Regions from separate parts of the Homo sapiens genome. Here region 2 is linked to region 1. The links are contacts of gene promoters, found by promoter capture Hi-C in blood cells and fetal thymus (Javierre and others, 2016). All regions are on one chromosome and are shown on one strand. The core of a region is centred on a gene start or on the middle of the fragment in contact, and the rest is flanking DNA. Distances in the headings are between cores, read along the strand shown. Region 1 holds the start of UBE4A (ubiquitination factor E4A). Region 2 has its middle 20 kb from the start of CD3E.

What was found. Contacts are between HindIII fragments. The CHiCAGO score rates a contact against its expected background, and 5 or more counts as called.
Region 2: a contact is called between a fragment that was not itself captured here and the fragment with the promoter of UBE4A in region 1, in 1 of 17 cell types (activated CD4 T cells). The highest score is 5.1, in activated CD4 T cells.

What each region holds. Positions count from the first base shown.
Region 1 is chr11:118,357,929-118,361,164 of GRCh38, reverse strand. It overlaps UBE4A (ubiquitination factor E4A), which reads right to left and starts at 1,565. Exons shown (of 20, transcript NM_001204077.2): 1 at 1,491-1,565. RefSeq lists an enhancer at 1,559-1,628. The HindIII fragment of the contact is 13,441 bases long and covers 422-3,236 here.
Region 2 is chr11:118,283,018-118,286,253 of GRCh38, reverse strand. No RefSeq gene overlaps it. Among named protein-coding and RNA genes, the nearest start is that of CD3E, 20 kb to the left of the region's middle. The HindIII fragment of the contact is 1,372 bases long and covers 960-2,331 here.

The sequences.
Region 1 (3,236 bases), core at 316-2,815:
CCAGGCTGTAATCCCACTACTTGGGAGGCTGAGGCAGGAGAATCACTTTTAAACTGGGAGATGGAGGTTGCCGTGAGCTGAGATCGTGCCACTGCACTCCAGAGCAGAGCCTGGGTGACAGAGCCAGACTCTGTCTCAAAAAAAAAAAAAAAAAAATACACACACACACACACACACATATATACATACATATATGTATGTATTTTTTTTCCTATTTTCAACTGCCATACAGAGATACAACACTATCCTGTTGTCAGACACTTTGGGATGGTACAGCTACCAACCTTAGAAGCTTTTGGATTTGATTCTTTTAAAATATATCCTCCTTGAAAACAAGTTTCACTCTGATACACTTGCTGCAAAGATCTATATCTATAATAGCTGTCCTACAAAATTCTGTCACTTCCTCCTAATACAAGCTTTTGTTTATGAATAGTACCACTAATCCTTTAAGACCACTGTCAGCTCTCATGAACACACAAGTGTGTTAACATCAGACTTGGTATTGTTTTTCAACAGAAATATCTGGAACACTTTGTAAAACTGGGATCGTCAAAATCAAGCTCTATCAAATCATACTCCCATAAGGTCTGTGTCCTGGCAAATAATACATATATCAATATAAAATAGAAATTAAAATATCAATTTAAAATAGAAATTAAGAAACAATTTTCGTTGTCGTATGTTTCACCTAACACTATCAGGCCATGCTAATGTGGCAACAAATTCCATCAACACATCTATCTGCAGCCTAGAAGGATCTCAAGTCAAAAAGCAGACAGCAGTCCTTCTTGGATCCCATTTTATCGCAGGTGGGCTTCCACGTGAGACCAAAACAGTAAATGACAGCGAGACTAAACACATGCTTGCTGTCAGGGCATAAAACTGATCCTAAAAGGAAGGCTCATCAAATATAAGGTCATGAGGCATGGTCACTCAATTTTAGAAGTGTCTTCTAAACCCAAGGAAACATGAAGCAGAGTGCCCCAAGAGTTATCTGTGGTGAACTCATCACCTGCCTTAAGAATTATCAACACCCTGACGTATGCATTGAACTGGTTTGCTTACGACTCACGATTAATCTTATCTTCTTGGCATCTGCCTATTTGTTATCTACTCTTTATATTTTATCCTTCCATGCTCCATAAGGGATTCGCGGGAAGGAGGGAGATCCACCCGCCCGGGGCACGTTCTAGAGAAAGTTAAGTCAAAAGATAATGCAATGATAGCGCTCCGGCCTCTTCCAGGAGGGGCTTGGCAAAGATGGGGACAGAAATGTACAAAGAGACATCAGAAGCTGGGGCACTGTAAGGGGTTCCAAATCAGACAGGGTCGAAGTTCAAGAAGGAGAAGGTCCCTGGTTAGCAAAGCATAGGAGAAGGAATTTGGAGAAGATAAGAGTGAACAGGCTTGAAGTGGCATTGGACCAGCAGAAAATATCACAACGCAAAGTCAACGACCCCGTCCCCTGAAGCTATTGCCTGTCTTACCAGAGCCTGAAGTGCCAGCAGCGACGACACGACAGAATCTCAGCGGCCGAAGGGTTCCCACTTCCGACTCAGCACAGCAACCGGAAGTTACGTCATCAACAAGCGCCGGGGCATGTGGAAGTTCATCTCCGCGCCGGAAGCACGGTGTGCAGGCTCACCGGGGGGAACGGCGCGCAAATAGTCCTACAGCGCATGCGCTAGCTTGTTAGGGGCGGGCTGGAGGCGGGCAGGAAGTGGCAAGAAGTGGCCTTGGCATCGGATTGTGGGGGCTGGAGTTGGCCCACCTGGCAGTGCGCTTTGGAGTATAGAATATGAGGCTGGGTTTTGGAAATCAGCGTACCGAGGGCAGATAAAACTCTGTGATCCCTGGCTCTGCTCGCAACCTCTGTTGGGGGTCTGCTCTCTTATTTTCCCACCAGTCCTAGACCTTTTTGAAGCAGCTTCTGTTACTCTCTATTATTCAAAGGGATAACACTAACAGCAATAACAACTACAAGTTTGTTATTGTTGTGCTGTCTTTGGAGCAATCTTTGGAGTGTGCTATCTTTGATTGGATTTCAGTTTTCTTATCTGTAAAGTGGAGACAGTATACATCCTACAAGGTTGTTTTGAGATACACATAGATGGCCAGGCACAGTGGCTCACGCCTTGTAGTCCCAGCACTTTGGGAGGCTGAGACGGGCGGGTCACGAGGGCAAGAGATCGGGATACACATAAATAATAGAAGCAGCATAATTTTCAAGAGTTAAAAGCGCTGTGCAAGTGAAAATTCACAGATTGAGAGAAAATAGTTGCAACTCATATATCTGATAAAGGATTCATCTCTAGAATATGTAAAGAACTACAAGAACGAAAAACCCCCAAACAGTTCAGTTCAAAAAAGGGCAAAGGACTTGAATAGACATTTCTCCAAAGAAGATACATTCCAAGAGAATGACTATCCACTTGGTATCTGTGGGGGATTTGTTTCAGGACCCCCTTGGGTACCAAAATCCAAGGATGCTCAAGTTCCTTACATAAAATGATGCAGTATTTGCATATAACCTATGCACATCCTCCTGTGTCATCCTAGAGATGACTAAGTCATCTCTAGATCACTTATAATACCTAATACAACATAAATCTAAATAGTGTTGTATTGTTTAGGGAATAATGACAAAAAGTCTGTACATGTTCAATACAGATGAAATTTGTTTTGGAATATTTCCAATTCATGGTTGGTTGAAGCCACAGATGCAGAGCCCACAGATATGGAAGGCCAACTGTACAAATGGTGGATAAGCATATGAAAGAGTGCTCAACACCACTAGTCTTTAGGGAAATGAAAAAAAAAATCATGAGATACCACTTAATACCTACTAGGATGGCTACTATAAAAAAAAAGGAAAGTAATTGTTGGCAGATGTGGAGAAATTGAAACCGTATGCGTTGCTGATGGCAATGTTAAATAGTCCAGACTTTTTGGAAAAACAGTTTGATGATTCCTCAAAAAGTTAAACATAGTATAACCACATGATCAAGCAATTCCGCTTTGATATAGATGTTCAAAATAACTGAAAGCAGGAACTCAGATACTTGTATACATATATTTACAGTAGCACTATTCATAATAACCAAAAGGTAGAAATAACCCAGAATGTTCATTAACAGATGAATGCATAAACAAAATATGGTATATAGCTACAGATGACTTATTCAGCCTTGAAAAAGAATGAAGTTCTGATACACGCTGAAACATTGATGAAC
Region 2 (3,236 bases), core at 396-2,895, 75 kb after region 1:
GTTACTTCCTTCACTGAAGTCTTGAACCCCTCAAAGTCATCCATGAGGGTTGGGATCAACCTCTTCCGAACTCCTGCTAAAGTTAATATTTTGACCTTCTCTCATGAATCATGAATGTTCTTAAATGGCATCTAGAATGGTGAATCCTTGGCAGAAGTTTTTCAGTTTCCTTTTCCCAGATCCATCCCACTATCTATGATTGTTATAGCCTTAAAAAATGTAGTTCTTAAATAATAAGACTTGAAAGTCAGAATTACTCTTTGATCCATAGGCTGCAGAATAGATGTTGTGTTGGTAGGCATGAAAACAGCAGTAATTTCTCTTTGTACATTTCCATCAGAGCTCTTTGGTGACAAGGTGCATTGTCAATGAGCAATAATATTTTAAAAAATAATCTTTTTTAGGGGGGCAGTAAGTCTCAACAGTGGGCTTAAAATATTCAGTAAACCGGCTGGGTGCGGTGGTTCATGCCTGTAATCCCAGCACTTTGGGAGGCCGAGGCGGGCGGATCACAAGGTCAGGAGATCTAGACCATCCTGGCTAACATGGTGAAACCCCATCTCTACTAAAAATACAAAAAATTAGCCAGGTGTGGTGGCAGGTGCCTGTAGTCCCAGCTACTCGGGAGGCTGAGGCAGGAGAATGGTGTGAACCCGGGAGGCGGAGCTTGCAGTGAGCCAAGATCACACCACTGCACTCCAGCTTGGGCGACAGAGCAAGACTCTGTCTCAAAAAAAGAAAAAGACAAAACAAAACAAAACAAAAAAACAAAAAACCATGCTGGAAACAGATGTGCTGTCATCCAGGCTTTGTTGTTCCATTTATAGAGCTCAGGCAGAGTAGATTTAACATCATTCTTAAGGGCCCTAGGATTTTTAGAATGGTAAATGATAAATTGGCTTCATAAAGTCACCAGCTGCATTAGCCACTAACAAGAGACTCAGCCTGTCTTTGAAGCTTTGAAGCCAGGCATTGACTTCTCCTCTAGAGCTATGAAAGTCTTAGATGACATCTTCTTCCAGCGTAAGGCTGTTTTGTCTACATTTAATTTTTTTTTAACTTAAAAAGATTTGATGGCTGGGCATGGTGGCTCATGCCTGTAATCCCAGCACTTTGGGAGGCCGAGGCATACGGGTCACCCGAGGTCAGGAGTTCGAGACCAGCCTGACCAACATGGTGAAACTCTGTCTCTACTAAAAATACAAAAAAAAAAAAAAAATTAGCTGGGCATGGTGGTGCATGCCTGTAATCTCAGCTACTTGGGAGGCTGAGGCAGGAGAATTGCTTGAACCTGGGAGGTGGAGGTTGCAGTGAGCCAAGATTGTGCCACTGCACTCCAGTCTGGATGACAGAATGAGACTCTGTCTCAAAAAAAAAAAAATTGAGAAAGGATCTTGCTTTCTTGCCCATACTGGAGTGCGGTGGCACAATCATAGCTGGCTGCATCCTCAAACTCCTGTACTCAAGTGATCCTCCCATCCCAGCCTTCTGAGTAGCTGGGACTAGAGATGTGCACCACCATGCCCAGTTTTCTTTCTTGTTTTTTTTTGTTTTTGTTTTTGTTTTAAGATGGGATCTCACTCTGTTGCCCAGGCTGGAGTACAGTGGCACAATCATAGCTCACTGCAGCCTCCTGGGACTCCTGGGTTCAAGCCATTCTCCTGCCTCAGCCTCTCGAGTAGCTGGGACTACAGGTGTATGCCACCATGCCCAGCTAATTTTTTATTTTTTTGTAGAGATGGGGTGTCACTGTGTTTCCCAGGCTGTTCTCGAACTCCTGGCCTTAAGTGATCCTCCCGCTTCAGCCTCCCAAAGTGCTGGGATTACAAGTGTGAACCCCTGCACCTGACTACATTGAAAATCTGTTGTTTAGTGTAGCCACCTTCATCAATTACCTTACTTAGATCTACTGAATAACTTGCTGCAGCTTCTACATCAGCACTTGTTGGTCTACCTTGTACTTTTATGTTATAGAGATGGCTTCTTTCCTTAAACCTCATGAACCAACCTCTGCTAGCTGCAAACTTTTCTTCTGCAGCTTCCTCACCTCTCTCAGGCTTCATAGAATTGAACAGAGTCAGGGCCCTGCCCTGGATTAGGCTTTGACTTAAGGAAAGGTTGTGGTTGGTTTGATCTTCTATCCAGACCACTCAAACTTTCTCCATATCAGCAACAAAGCTGTTTTGCTTTCTTATCATTCATGTATTCGAGTAGCACTTTCAATTTCTTTTAAAAACTTTTCCTTTGCATTCACAACTTGGCTAGCTGTTTGGTGCGAGAGGCCGAGCTTTCTGCCTATCTCTGCTTTCCATATGCCTTCCTCACTAAGCTTACTCATGTCTAGTTTTTGATTTAAAGTGAGAGACATGCGACTGCCTTTCACTTGAACACTTAGAGGCCATTGTAGGGTTCACCTGGCCTGATTTCAATATTGCTGTGTCTCAGGGAATAGGGAGGCCTGAGAATAGAGAGAGAGATGGGGGACTGGCTGGTCTGTGGAGCAGTCAGAACACGCACAACATTTTCTGATTAAGTTTGCCATCATGTATGGGCATGGTTTGTTGTGCCCCAAAACATCTACTACTGTAACACCGAAGATCACGATCAAAGGTCACCACGACATATAGAATAATAATAAACAAGCTTGAAATGTTGTGAGAATTACTAAAACATGACACAGAGACACAAAGTGAGCACATGCTGTTGGAAAATGATTTGCTCTACATGGGGTTGTCACAAACCTTCAATTTGTAAAAAACACAATACCTGCAAAGTGCAATAAAGTGAAGTGCAATAAAATGAGGTCTGCCTATACAGCATAAAGCAGTAGATGAGTCACAAAAATAATTTAACACCCTCGTAGCAGTGTATCCTTAATGCCCAGATTGTAGGTTCAAACACCATTTCCCACTAAAAGAAATCAGGGATCCTTGAAGAATTGCGGATGATTTTAAGTCTATGGCAAGAAGTGTTCAAGATGAGCCTGGAACATCTCGTCATATGGGTCAAAAGGACTGTCACATGAGGAATTACCTTGGTGCAATGATAACCTTCTAACATATTACATAACAAGCTATCCCAGAGGTCACAGAACAGAATGGCTCACAGACAAAATTACGATCCTGAATCACTTGGTTTATCAACTCAATTAAAATGTTTAGTAAGAAGCAATGGAAAAGAGATGAGGAAGGTTAACACCCTTAGCACAGGGTGGAAGAAGTACCCTATGTGAGTTC